Regions from separate parts of the Homo sapiens genome. Here regions 1, 2, 3 and 4 are each linked to region 5. The links are contacts of gene promoters, found by promoter capture Hi-C in blood cells and fetal thymus (Javierre and others, 2016). All regions are on one chromosome and are shown on one strand. The core of a region is centred on a gene start or on the middle of the fragment in contact, and the rest is flanking DNA. Distances in the headings are between cores, read along the strand shown. Region 1 overlaps SMAP1 (small ArfGAP 1). Region 2 overlaps LOC105377848 (a long non-coding RNA gene). Region 3 overlaps FAM135A (family with sequence similarity 135 member A). Region 4 overlaps SMAP1 (small ArfGAP 1). Region 5 holds the start of SDHAF4 (succinate dehydrogenase complex assembly factor 4).

Region 1 (2,700 bases), core at 183-2,682, 160 kb after region 5:
CCCAGCTAATTTTTGTGTTTTTAGTAGAGATGGAGTTTGGCCATGTTGGCCAGGCTGGTCTTGAATTCCTGGCCTTAAGTTATCTGCCCACCTAAGTCTCCCAAAGTGCTGGGATTACAGGCGTGAGCCACTGCGCCCAACCCACATAATAATCACATCAAATGCCACTGTCTCTACAAAGCCTCCATTAATATTGTTGGCTGACATTAATTTTTACCTCTTCTATGTTCCTGTGTCATTTGTACTTATTACTATAACCATTATATGATTATTAGAGTTCAAGCTCCTTGAAGGCAGGATTTGTGTTTTGTCATCTTCGTTTAATACTTCGGTCAAAATAAACACATAATAGATAACTGGTGATTTAAATTGGATCTAGAAAACTCAGGTTTGATGAAAAAGTCTTTTATTATTCTTTAACCCGTCTTAGAATTTGGGCTCTAAAATCAGGGATTGCTAAATCTATTGTGTGTTCTGTTTGCTGTTACCAACATTCAAATGTAATTCACACTGACCGTGTGCAGTGTGGCTCATACCTGTAATCCCAGCAGTTTGAGAGGCTGAGGCAAGTGGAATGCTTGAGCCCAGAAGTTTGAGACCAGCCTGGACACCATGGTGAAACCCTGTCTCTACAAAAAATACAAAAATTAGCTGGGCGTGGTGGTATGTGCCTGTAGTTCTAGCTACTTGTGAGGCTGAGGTGGGAGGATCACTTGAGCCTGGGAGGCAGAGATTTCAGTGAGCCAAGATCTTCACCACTGCACTCCAGCCTGGGCAATAGAGTGAGACCCTGTCTCAAAGAAAAAAAAAAGTGGCTTAAACAGGGTAGAAGTTTATTTCTCCTTCACATTGGTCTGGACATGAACTGTCCAGTATGGGTAGAGTAGTTCTGTCATCTTCACCATGGGGCTTTTGTAATTGGATCCAAGGTTGCAGGTTCATTCCTTATTGTCTCCTAGCAAATGGAAAAGGGGAAGAGGCCAGGGGAACACAGGCCCAGTGTGGTTAATGGCAAAATATATCATTTCTGTTTACATTCTACAGGAGAGGCTGAGAAATGTAGTCTTCCTATCAGGACAGCCACATTTCTAGGTAAAATTCAGAAGCCTTTATTACTTAAAGGAAGAATGGGAAAATTGATATTAAAGATAGTGATTTTTGCCATAATTTTCAGATTTATTTCCATTTTTAAAAATAGTAGATCAGTTGTTCAGGAATCAAAACATTTGAGTATTTGACTGAGTCATCAGATCTAGCAGATTTTTAAAATTATACAGTCGATTCCCTTACTGTAGGTGATACAGAAGGTTATATAAGAGCCTTCCTAGTGAGAACTTTACCATCTACTTTAGGAGACAGAACTAATTACAAATGAAAAAAGAGTAGATGCCTATTGTGGCACATTCTGTGTCACATGCTGTTATGAGTGTAGACATTTACAGGAGATAAATATTTCCTATAATCTAATATAGAGGAAAACAGGAAACTGTTAAAGGTTTGGAGTTGGAAACTGAAATGGTGCGAGAGTGTAAACTGGTAATGGAATTCAGATTGGGTGAATTATCTTTCTCCCTCTTCTTCTGATAATGAATTCAGAGTGGATGAGCTCCCTCCCTTTTGCTCTGCCTAATCTCTGAGGTTACCTAATACTTTTCAGCCTCAGTTACCACATCCAGATGTTCTTTCTTAGCCCAATTACTCTTGACTTCTTTGGAATATTTGATACTATTGAACATCTTTTTTTTTTCCCTGTTTTTGAAAACAGCTTTTCTTTGAAACGACCTCATTCTCTACTTTTACTGCCTTTCATTTTCTCCCTAAGATTTAGTACTGTGCTTTTTTGCTCTTTTTGTTCTTGATACTGCAACTCTCATCTTAAAAGAAGGTGTGAGGCTGGGCGTGATGGCTCATGCCTGTAATCCCAGCACTTTGGGAGGCCGAGGCGGGCGGATCACGAGGTCAGGAGATCAAGACCATCCTGGCTAACATGGTGAAACCCCGTCTCTACTAAAAATACAAAAAATTAGCTGGGCGAAGTGGCGGGCGCCTGTAGTCCCAGCTACTCAGGAGGCTGAGGCAGGAGAATGGCATGAACCTGGGAGGTGGAGCTTGCAGTGAGCCGAGATCACGCCACTGCACTCCAGCCTGGGCAACAGAGCGAGACTCCGTCTCAAAAAAAAAAAAAAAGAAGGTTGTGTGTGTGTGTGTGTGTGTGTGTGTGTGTGTGTATGTGTGTATGTATCCAGTTTGAACTTTAGTCCTATATTCTAAATCGCCTGCCAGACATTTTCATCTTGGTGTATCACTATCATTTAAAGCATTCAATGGATCTCCTGCAGTTTTCTGACTCCACGAGGACCCTCATGCTTTATATCCTAGGTGCAGAACTTGCATTTTGGCCTCTACCTTCTCCTTTGCCACTGTATTTTCTATGAGTAAGCCCTGTCAGTTCTTCCTGGTGATTTCATATTTGTTCGTTTCCATTCTTACTGCTGCCACATTTATCAGTCCCTTAATTACGTTAGTTATGTGAAAGCAAATCAGGAAGTGTGTTGAATGCTTGAGTTAAAGATTGTGGAGAATGCTCTAGAACCTTGCTCTTCAAAATGTCATCTGTGGATGGCAGCATGGGCATCACTGGGAACTTGTTAGAATGCAGAACCTTAGGAGCTACTCTGGGGGTCACAGAATTAAGAGTCT
Region 2 (2,700 bases), core at 57-2,556, 200 kb before region 5:
GAGGTACCCAGGCCACTGTGTGTTATTTCACTCTTTCAAAGAGGTAGTGAAGCAGGATATTTCCCTGGCCCCTTCATGGGACTCACAAAGGGGGTGCCTTGTTTCCTCAGCCTGCAGTTCTCAACTCCTCGCAGGAGGGAGCACGCAAGCGAATAAGGTGGGAAATTGTGTGCCCGGGCACTGGAACTAGCCAGCCACTTCAGTGCTGGCAGTGGCAAATTCCACTCACTTGGAGCCACTGCGCTCCACCCCTCGTGGGAAGGCGCATGCAGGTGAGCAGGTGCAGGAGCCAGGGCAAGCACTTTTGGGTGTGAGCAGGAGCAAAGTCTGTGCAGGCCCCAACAGCAACATCTGGGAGGGTACCTGTGACCCCTGAAGTCCCAGAGGGAGTGTTACAGTGCTCTTTTAGTGCTGCTGTCCACAGACAGCTTAAGTGTTAACAGCTCAGTGGACCCTCTACCTTTTGGTGTGAGGCAGCTGCCTTTTGCCAGAGAGGGCAAAGGGTCAGTGTGACAGCCTTTTGTATCTGCACTCGTGGTTCCTGAGTTCTTCTGTGGCGTCCAGGAGGAATGAGGTCACATGAACAAATTGAAGGATTGTAAATGTGGGAAATTTTATTGCCGATGGGCATGGCTGTCAGTGGGAAGGGGAGCTGAAAAGGGGACAGAGCTGGAAGGTAATCTTCTCCTGAAGTCCAGGAGTCTCCAACCAGATTCTTCTCCCAAGTTACACGGTCAAGCTGTCCCTCTGGAATCAAGCCGCTTCTCCCCGACATCCAGCTATAGTCTCTGATGTCCAGCTGCTTCTCCTCTCTCTGTCAGCTGGGTATGAGGTTTTTTATAAGCCCAGGATGGAGGGCAGGGCAGGCAATGAGTGGTTTTGGAAAAGGCAACATTCAAGTGGGAAAACAGGGATGTAAGTTCTCACTTCTGGCTGCGGTTTCAGGCTTTTCAGCTGGAGGGTGGGGCATTTGCCAGGGACCCGCCCTTTCTGCCTAGAATTTCTCTGCCTCCTGCCTCTATCGTTGTATCCATAGGAGCAGAAATATGATATTGAACAAATGGAAATAGTGGCTGAGACCAAAACCAGTAGTGTTCATCAAATTTCCATGTTCTCACCAATGGAATGTAGGGGAGATGAGGTGTCCCTTCTGGTATAGCAGTTAAAATCAAGTGTGACTTCTGCATGTTGACTCTCTCCTAAGGCTAGCTGATTAAACACAAAGCACTCAACTCCAACATGGCAGTGTTAAGCTGGATGCAGCCTGGCCCCTGGGTTGCCGCTGGAAGGGAAGTGGTGTAGGAGAGCTACCAGGCCAGCCTGCAACAGACTGCAATGTAAAGGGAGATATGTCTCTGTTTCATTAAGCCATTGAGAGCTCAGCAGTTTTTTGTTATTATGACATAATCTAGCCTATTGTGATTAAGACAAAAATAGATCTGGAAGTGAGGCACAGGAGGCAAAGAATGGGCTACACTGGAGATATCTAAACAGAGAAAGGAAGAAGAGAGAATGATTGTATGAGAGAATAACAAGTTGTGTGAGCTTGCTTATAAATAGTTGAGAAGGAACCAGTAAAGAAAGAAACAGGCAATGCAAGAAACAGGGGAGCTAATAGACAGATCTGTTCTCATGAAGAGAAGTGAAAGGTTGAGATTAAGGACTCAAATGAAGAGATACATCTTAGAAGGTGTCTTTGCTCAGAGACAAGAGCAAAGGAAAGTGAAATGGGAGAAGAAACCAAAAAACAGAAGGGGGAAATGATTGAAAGTTGCAGAAAATGTAATAAGCCGCAAAAGGGACCATTTTTAGCCACCTTCTGACAGAAGTGTAATCAAAGCAATTTCCAAGTGACTGAGCTTATATTAATCTTCTCTCACACACTTAAATTTATTCGGCTTTATCCCTACAGGCCACATGTAATACCTATTCTTAATTTATGCTAAGCCTGATATCTTCTAAATCTTACATGTTTTTAATGCAGTACTAGACAGAGTTATTCATGCTCCATGCACACTAGCAATATCATAAATTCAGATTTGGAATTACTGAGGTATGAGAGAGCTTACCAACCTGAACTCAACAGAAGTCCAACAGCATTATGCATAGGTTTTACAGAAAGAGATTTTGTTTGAATTGAGCATCAAATAGAAGAAAAAGATACATAGCATTTGAAAAAAAAGGTTTTAAAAACAATTTACAGAAAAATATATTCTGCCTTATATTAAAGAGATGGGAAGAAAATAAGAAAAGGAGGGATAGAGGGAGGAAGGGAAAGTTACCAGTTTAAAATTTTTGTTAAGTTGTAAGATACACTTTCCTTCTACTTCTGCTCCCTCCCACTAAATTCCCAAACCCACAGTGACCAAGTCAGTGGACATGTAGCCATGCAAACTGACTGTTCCCAATAAATCCCTCAACAGATTTGGAAATATTAATTTATTTTATATGTGACAATATCACTCTTTAAAAACAGGTGGTGGGTTTTGTGTCAGTTATCTTATCAACAGATCAGACTTTAGCATCTTCAGGGATCTTATTTCAAGAGTACAGAATAATTATCTATTGGTTTTCATACAGTTAATAATCAAGCCCCTCTCTCCTTCCTTTCGAATATCTCATATCTGCCCACTTCTTTCACTCACACTGTCTCACACTCTATTCAAGCCCCACATCACCTTACACCCAGAATTCCTAGCT
Region 3 (2,700 bases), core at 154-2,653, 140 kb before region 5:
AATAGAAACCTAGGAAACAGTTTAGAGGCACTTGATAGTAACTCAAGATATAAATCTGGAGATCTATACAAAGAGTGGTGGCAGTGGGACTAACAGAAGAAGTAGAGCAAGAGATTCTCTATTTTTTTTTTTTGCCTTGACCTTGCCATCTTGTTGAAAAAATAAAAACAGCTGTGCCTGTGCTGTGGTCTGCTCTATATGGTCTCTAATTTCTTAGCAGGCCAGCCTGGACTTGTTCTCATGGTGGAGACAAGAGTCTGAGATAGAGAGCAGAAGGCCGGGTGCGGTGGCTCACGCCTGTAATCCCAGCACTTTGGGAGGCCAAGGCGGGCAGATCACCAGAGTTCAGGAGTTCGAGACCAGCCTGGCCAACATGGTGAAGCCCCATCTCTACTAAAAATATAAAAATTACCCAGGTGTGGTGGTGGACGCCTGTAATCCCAGCTACTCGGGAGGCTGAGGCAGAAGAATTGCTTGAACCCAGGAGACGTAGGTTTCAGTGAGCCGACACGGTGCCACTGCACTCCAGCCTGGGTAACAGAGTGAGACTCTATCTAAAAAAAAAAACAAAAAAAGAAAGAGAGCAGAAGATGCAAGTCTCCTTCAATTGACACACTGTTACTTCCACTGCATTCCATTGGCCAAGCAAGTCACAGTGCGAGGTCACGAGTCAGGCTGGTGGCTTTTTGGCCAGTACAATTCACTTAAAAAACTTTGTGGACTGTCCATATGGCTGATAAGTTTATTCCATGCTTTAAAGCCCACAGCCACAGTTGTTTTTGAGACATGCTTGCTCTCTAGATAGCATATCTACCAATCTCTGCTACTTGGGGATTAGAATTCTGTGGGATCATGCCCATCAACTTTCTAAAAATCCTTTTGTCATGCTGAGAACGTCTGCTTACATCTTAATTCTTTTAGTGATCTTAAGAAAGGAAGCTACAGCTACATCCTTGAGTTGATCTTTGTTCAAGGGCTTTGTTTTATTTTCAGGAGACTGCAGATGAAACAGTTTTATTTTCCAACCCAGCAAGTTCTAGTTGCTCTAGATTTCTTCTAGATTCTGCTTATAAAATGACTAGCTCTTTCTTTAGTTCATCTCTATCTTGCAGAACCTTATACTTAGCTAGGAGCAACCAGTTGGCGTTTTTGGTATTCTGCTTGGAAATTAATTTGCTAAGTCCAAAAGTTTCTTAGATACATTTTCTGAATTATTCCAGGTTAGTGTAAGATAGCATATTACATCACTCCATAACATGGTTACCATTTTCCTCATCTCCTATAGTTTCCTCATTATTTTTCCACCATTTGTAGCTGTAACTGTTAGTTTGGCCCCAGAATTAATGCCACTTATTTTAAGTTTTTGTTATGGCACACACCACTTCTAGGTATCGATTTCTGTATTGTTTATTGTCACAATAATGCAGCTAACCACAAACACAAAGACTCAATGGCATTATGGCAATAAACATTTATTTTTGCTCCTAAGTCTGTGGATCATCTCAACGGTTCTACTGATCTAGGGTGGCTTGGCTCATCTTTGCTGGGCTCACTTCATGAATGCACAGTCAGATGGCAGATTGGCCGGGCACTAGCTGGATGCAGAGTGGCCTCAGCTGGGCAGTCTCAGTTCTGTTTCACAGTCTCTCATCCTGCAGCTTATTCTCATGGACAAGGCATGGGTCCACAGAAGAGAGAAACCATGCCAGCAGACCTCATATCATCTAGGCTTGGAAATGATGCACTGTTACACCTCCACCACAAGATACTGGCCAAAGCAAGTCATAAGTAAGGCCAGCCCACATTTAAAAGGTGGGCAACTACACTCCACTTCTTAATGGGAGTCACACTGTAAGAGGTCTGAATATAAGGAAGAGCAAAATATAGGTGACATTTTTAAAATCAATCTACAGGTTACATTTTGTAGGTTTGTTTTTAACAACATGATTTTGACAAGCTAAATGTGTAAAAAGCAATTCAGTATTGGAGTTAGATTTGAAGACTAGCTAGAAAACAAATTGCTTGCTTAAGTTGTATTCATGAAAAAAATGATTATTTGGAAACCATTACTGTTTATAAAATAGTTTTCAAATATATGTAGTGTCCTCTGACCTATATATAAAATATATCATTATAAAATTATAAAATATTTTAATGTGTAATATAAACATAATATCAACATGTAAAATTGTTCTTTCCAAGTAAAACAGTGTTACTCTTTAGACAAAAAAGTCATGATGTGAAATCACTTTGCTTAATAAAATCATGTTAAGTTTTACCTCATACAATTTTAACACGGTGTTGTGTATTAACAATCAATGCTATAAATGTGTTCTAAAGAATAGAGGATAGAAATGTAATAACTTAATATTCACAAACACATTCTTTTAGCCACTAACCTCAGTATTTTATTCTTCCTCTAAAAAAATAAATTCAAGTTTTCTGACAATGGAAAAAATAGATGTATACTTAATCTCTACCTGCTGCACTTCTGTAAAGATACTAAAGAGCATCTCTTTCTCTTATGACTACTTATAAAAGATTTATTACTATTATAGTTCATTTTTATGCTAGATCAAAGCAGGAAAAGGATCTACATTATTATTACACTTGAAAAATAACTTATAGAAGAGCAAAATTAAATTTGTTAAGTAAAGCGCTTTTCCTGTTCATCTGTGAGAATATGTTTTTGTGGCCCTT
Region 4 (2,700 bases), core at 171-2,670, 140 kb after region 5:
TCTAGAATTCACGAATAAAAGAGGAAGTAGAATAAATGAGTTGCTAATGTATAGCCCCAGGATATATCAAATAAGCCAGTGTTTAATATAGTTTCTGGAATTTAATCATTAGTCATTAGAATGATGTTAGAATAAAATTTAGGATTAGGAATATAGCTGTTTTGTATTTTGCCACATATGTTTGTCCTTCCTTATTCTGGGTTTTTCTTTGATTTTTATCAATAGTTTTTATGTATCAGCTGTTTTTGACATTAATGGTTTCTCTTGTTATATGTTAGTTTTATACTATTAGAGTAACTTTATTCCAATTATGATGTACTGGAATTTGGATTCATGAGATTTTGTCATATTTTGATCACATAAGCATGGAACATTTGAGCTTGATTTGTTTAACAAAATAAATAAACATCATCTCTGAATATATTCACTTGTGTCCATTCTTTCTCTTTTCATGAATGTGATTTATTATTTCAGTAATAAAGGATGTTAATCTTAAATTGGTAATCCTAAATAAAACTTTTATATTATCCTCATTAACTTTTTTTTTAGCTAAAAGGAATGGTAGGCAAAATTGATGTATGTTGAAAGTCAGCCTGAAAGCTATTGAGAGCATGATCTGTTAATTAACATAACAGTAAAGGTCTTTTACTGTTGCCTTTGCGAAAAGAAAACTAAACACATATTTTCAAAAGCAAACTATTTTGGCATTTAAAAAAGCTTGAAAATAGACATCTGAAACCTAATATTGTTAATGTAACACATTTTAAACATTTATTTATTTATTTATATTTATTTTTGAGACAGAGTCTCACTCTGTCACCCAAGCTGGAGTGCAGTAGTGGGATCTTAGCTCACTGCAACCTCCACCTCCTGTGTTCAAGTGATTCTCCTGCCTCAGCCTCCTGAGTAGCTGGGACTACAGGCGCATGCCACCACACTAGCTAATTTTCATATTTTTAGTAGAGATGGGGTTTCACTATGTCTACATGTTGGCCAGGCTTTAAAATTTATTTTTTATTGCATGTATTTAAGCTGTACAGCATGACATTTTGATACACATATATAGTGAAATGATTTCTACAGTCAAACAAATCAACATATCCACCACTTTCCATAGTCAACATTTTTGGCATGGTAGGAGTACCTAAAACCTACTCTTTCAGCAAGTTTTCAGTATATTGCAGTGTAGTAACACTGCAGTGTATAACTATAGTCCTTATGCTGAACATTATATCTCTAGACTTAGCAATCTTACATAGCTGTAAATTTGTACCCTTTGACCTCCCTCTTCCTGTTTCCTCTCCTTTCCTGCGCCTGGTAACCATCATTCTACTCTCTGTTTCTGTTTACTTTTCTCCCTAGATTTCACATATACGTGAGATTATACAATATTTTTCTTTCTATATCTGGCTTATTTTACTAACCATAATGTCCCCCAGATTCATCCCTGTTGTCTCAAGTGGTGGGTTCTCCCTTTTTCCCCCAAGGCCGAATTATATTCCATTGTATGTATACACCATAATTTCTTTGTTCATTCATCCGTTGATGGACAAACACTTAGGTCATTTCCATCTTAACTATTGGGAAAAAATGCTGCAATGAACATGGGAGTCCAGATGTCTCTATGAAGTGCTGATTTCATTTCCTTTAGGGAAATCAGAGGAATTGCTTGGCCTATGGTAATTTTATTTTTAAATTTTTGAAGAATCTGCATACTCCTTTCCATAATAGCTGTACCAATTTACATTCATACCAATAGTATATAAGGGTTTCTTTTTCTCTACACCTTTCTAACACTTGTTATCTCTTGTCTTCTTGATAATAGCCTTCTTAACAGGTGTGAAGTGATATTACACAGTGGTTTCGATTTGCATTTATCTGATGACTAATGATGTTGAGTACTTTCTGATATATGTATTGGCTATTTTTATGCCTTCTTTGGAAAAATGTCTATTCAGGTCCTTTGCCCGTTTTTAAGTAAGTGTTTTTTTGGTTTTGTTTTTTGCTAGTAAGTTTTAAAAAAAATTTAGATATTAATTTCTTAACAGAGAGATGGTTTGCAAATATTTTGCCCCAATCTGTAGGCTGCCTTTTCATTTTGTTGATTGTTTCCTTTGCATTGCAGAAGCTTTTTAGTTTGATGTAGTCCCACTTGTTTATTTTTGCTTTTGTGGCTTGAGCTTTCGCTGTGATATCTAGAAAATCAGTCCAGACCAGTATGAAGGAGCTTTTCCCTATATTTTCTTCTAAGGAGGTTTTTGTGTGTGTGTGTGTGTGGTATAAGGGTCCAGTTTCATTCTTTTGCATTAGATATTTAGTTTTCCCAACCCCATTTGTTGAAGAGACTGTACTTCCGCCATTGTGTCTTCTTGGCGGGCTTGTCAGGAATTACTTGACCATATATGCTTGGATTTATTTCTGGCTTTCTATGCTGTTTCATTAGTCTGTGTCTATTTTCATGCCCATACCATAAACAATATGCCCATATTGTTTTGATTACTATAGCTTTATAATACTTTTTTTTTCTTTTGAGACAGGCTCTCGCTCTGTTGCCCATGCTAGAATACAGTAGCACGATCATGGCTCATTGTAGCCTTGACTTCCTTGCTCAAGTGATCCTCCCACCTGAGCCTGCGACTGCAGGTGTGTGCCACTGTGCCTGGTTAATTTTTAAATTTTTTGTAGAGACAGGTCTGTGTT
Region 5 (2,803 bases), core at 84-2,583:
TGGAAATAATTTTTTTTCCCTGTTCTGTTCCTTCAGGGCCTCTGTTAAGTGGGGCTCTAAATATGAAAAGCAGTCAGTTGCCAGCTGGGCCAGTTTATTGAGCAAAGCCATCATCCGACTTTGAATTTTTTCCTCAGTCAGCTAGTCACAAGGAATTCATTATTAAACTGTAGATATAAGCTAAAGGTCAAAAGCATGATATTAGGACTGTGAGCTCCCTACAAATGAAAACTGTTTCCGTTTTGACTTTGGCCCAGTTCTGTGTATCCCACTTTCTCTCTTTTTTCTTTTTCTGTTTTTGAGATGGAGTTTTGCTCTGTCTCCAAGGCTGGCGTGCAGTGGCGTGATCTCTGCTCACTGCAATCTCCGCCTCCCGAGTTCAAGCGATTCTTCTACCTCAGCCTCCCAAGTAGCTGGGATTACAGGAATGTGCCACCTCGCCCGGCTAATTTTTGTATTTTTAGTAGAGTGTTGGCCAGGCTGGTCTCGAACTCCTGACCTCAGGTAATCTACCCGCCTCGGCCTCCCAAAGTGTTCGGATTACAGGAGTGAGCCACCTTGCCCGGCCCACTTTCTCTTCGTAAAAGGATCTCCTTATCTAGGAGAACCAGATAATTCTCAGTTCATGATAAGAAGCTTCGATCGTATAACCACTTGATGTCACATGGTCAGACACTACCAAGGCGCAATAGCTAGCCAGAAACTTTTCTTTAAAAGAAAAGACAAAATTCCAGAATTCTGGGGGCCTTCACTATGATTCTGTAAATATTTCCACGAGTTGCACAAAGCATCCAGGTCTGCCACATCCACTCAACGCTATCAGAGCTGGTGGGATGTAAGGGTTAAGGGGCAGAGCTCATTGCACTGGATCCTGGCCTGGATGGAGAGCCTTTTCTTGCTTTGCACCTCATTCAAAAATGTCGCCTTTCATATCATCTGGTTAGTCGGTCAGAATGGACGAACTAGGAGCTGACTGAACAAAGATTTAAAACACAAAACAGGGAGAATTAGGTAAAAGAAGCATTTTACATGAGTGAGAGAGTAAAAGGTGCTCAATCTTTGTAAACTATAAAAGGGATCTTCCACGGGCCATTTCGGCTCAGACTGACAAGCATGAACGGAACGGAATTATTCCCTCTTCTAACTGCAGCCACGATTTGGCGTTTTAACACCGGGCTCAAGGTAGCCTGGGTCTCTCTTGGCCAAAGAGCCCAGGGATGCCTCTAACTCCTTTTCTAAAGCCGGCCACGGAGGCCCCGCCCTCTGCAGGGAGGCTCCGGATCATGCCCCCTGCTCCTCCCACTACTGCTTTGCGCCTGCGCGGAGGCTCGGGGAGTCGGCGCCATGACCCCATCGAGGCTTCCCTGGTTGCTTAGCTGGGTCTCGGCCACGGCGTGGAGAGCGGCAAGTAAGCACCTGGCCTCGGGGCCACGGTCGCGGGAGGGGTCGTGAAGGCCCAGGCGCAGAGAGAAGCGCCTCCCGCGGAGGAAGCCGCGTGTGTCCTGGCCGTTCGGTGTTGCCAGGGGCTGCCCAGCTTCTCCCGCCCAGCCGCCCACCCGGTGGCCTGGGCAGGTTCCTGCAGCGCCCCGGGTCTCGGGTGGGACTAGAGCGAGAAAATCGCTAAGGCCCTTTCAGCCCCCGGGACGTCCGCTTCCTACCGAGCACGCGGTGGCCCAACAGGACCACAAACGTTCCGGGTTGTTCCTGTGGGAGCTCGCAGGGCACACCGCACTTCGATGCCCCAGAGAAAAATGGAAAAGAAGGCCCTTTGGGAATGGGAGTCATTGATTTACTTATTTATTTACATCATTATTTACAGGAATCCGCGCTCCTGGTCCAGGCTCCAGCAGAAAAGGATTTGTGGCAGTTTACAGTTTATCTTTTAAAAATGGGAAAAGTGCAGAAGTGAGCCAAAGGCAAATAAGTATAACGTAAATTAGATGAAGCCAGGAATTGTCAGTACAGAAAAAGCATTCATGCTTTCAGTAAAACCAACATTTTTAAACCCATTGTTGTTGGAAATTTTTCTCAAGATAATACAGTTAGCAGCCCAGACTATGCAAAACATAATTTTATTTATTTATTTATTTATTTGTTTATTTATTTTGAGATGGAGTCTCGCTCTGTCCCTCAGGCTGGAGTGCAGTGGCGCAATCTCGGCTCACTGCAAGCTCTGCCTCCCAGGTTCACGCCATTCTCCTGCCTCAGCCTCCTGAGTAGCTGGGACTACAGGCGCCCGCCACCGTGCCTGACTAATTTTTTGTATTTTTAGTAGAGACGGGGTTTCACCGTGTTAGCCAGGATGGTCTCGATCTCCTGACCTTGTGATCCGCTCGCCTCGGCCTCCCAAAGTGCTGGGATTACAGGCGTGAGCCACCGCGCCCGGTCCGCAAAACATAATTTTAATATATGACACCTGGAGAAGTTATGTAAGTTGAAAACAGTAATTATTGCCCTCAAATGGTGCCAGATTTCTATGCAATTTGTTTTCCTTTGTGCAATCATTTTACCCAAATACAAACATTTTACTTAATTGTATAAGTTTTAAATAGTCCAGAAATGAATAATACAGAAAGTGAAAGTCCTACATTATCCAAACCTCAAGGTAATAACGTTAAAATTTTGTAGGGTTCATTCAACATCCCCCTTTAACTAGTTTTAAACAATTATGAATTATTCCATATATATATATGTATACACACACACACACGTAGCACACATGTAAGCTATGTAGCAGTCATGTAAGCTATGAAGCACAACCAGCATCTATGAACTTATACTCCAATTTAAGAAATAGTCTCTA

Evidence for each region. Contacts are between HindIII fragments. The CHiCAGO score rates a contact against its expected background, and 5 or more counts as called.
Region 1: a contact is called between a fragment that was not itself captured here and the fragment with the promoter of SDHAF4 in region 5, in 1 of 17 cell types (total CD8 T cells). The highest score is 5.2, in total CD8 T cells.
Region 2: a contact is called between a fragment that was not itself captured here and the fragment with the promoter of SDHAF4 in region 5, in 1 of 17 cell types (non-activated CD4 T cells). The highest score is 5.5, in non-activated CD4 T cells.
Region 3: a contact is called between a fragment that was not itself captured here and the fragment with the promoter of SDHAF4 in region 5, in 1 of 17 cell types (naive CD8 T cells). The highest score is 5.1, in naive CD8 T cells.
Region 4: a contact is called between a fragment that was not itself captured here and the fragment with the promoter of SDHAF4 in region 5, in 6 of 17 cell types (non-activated CD4 T cells, activated CD4 T cells, total CD4 T cells and 3 more). The highest score is 6.5, in non-activated CD4 T cells.

Annotation. Positions count from the first base shown.
Region 1 is chr6:70,727,267-70,729,966 of GRCh38, forward strand. The region is part of intron 1 of SMAP1 (small ArfGAP 1); the gene reads left to right. Among named protein-coding and RNA genes, the nearest start is that of SMAP1, 61 kb to the left of the region's middle. The HindIII fragment of the contact is 3,512 bases long and covers 1-2,700 here.
Region 2 is chr6:70,363,816-70,366,515 of GRCh38, forward strand. The region is part of intron 1 of LOC105377848 (a long non-coding RNA gene); the gene reads right to left. Among named protein-coding and RNA genes, the nearest start is that of LINC01610, 29 kb to the right of the region's middle. The HindIII fragment of the contact is 3,427 bases long and covers 1-2,700 here.
Region 3 is chr6:70,429,780-70,432,479 of GRCh38, forward strand. All of the region lies in intron 4 of FAM135A (family with sequence similarity 135 member A), which reads left to right. Among named protein-coding and RNA genes, the nearest start is that of FAM135A-AS1, 17 kb to the left of the region's middle. The HindIII fragment of the contact is 4,816 bases long and covers 1-2,700 here.
Region 4 is chr6:70,706,827-70,709,526 of GRCh38, forward strand. The region is part of intron 1 of SMAP1 (small ArfGAP 1); the gene reads left to right. Among named protein-coding and RNA genes, the nearest start is that of SMAP1, 40 kb to the left of the region's middle. The HindIII fragment of the contact is 1,411 bases long and covers 716-2,126 here.
Region 5 is chr6:70,565,597-70,568,399 of GRCh38, forward strand. SDHAF4 (succinate dehydrogenase complex assembly factor 4) reads left to right here and starts at 1,334. Exons shown (of 3, transcript NM_145267.3): 1 at 1,334-1,408. The coding sequence starts at 1,345. RefSeq lists a silencer at 1,622-1,681. The HindIII fragment of the contact is 5,796 bases long and covers 635-2,803 here.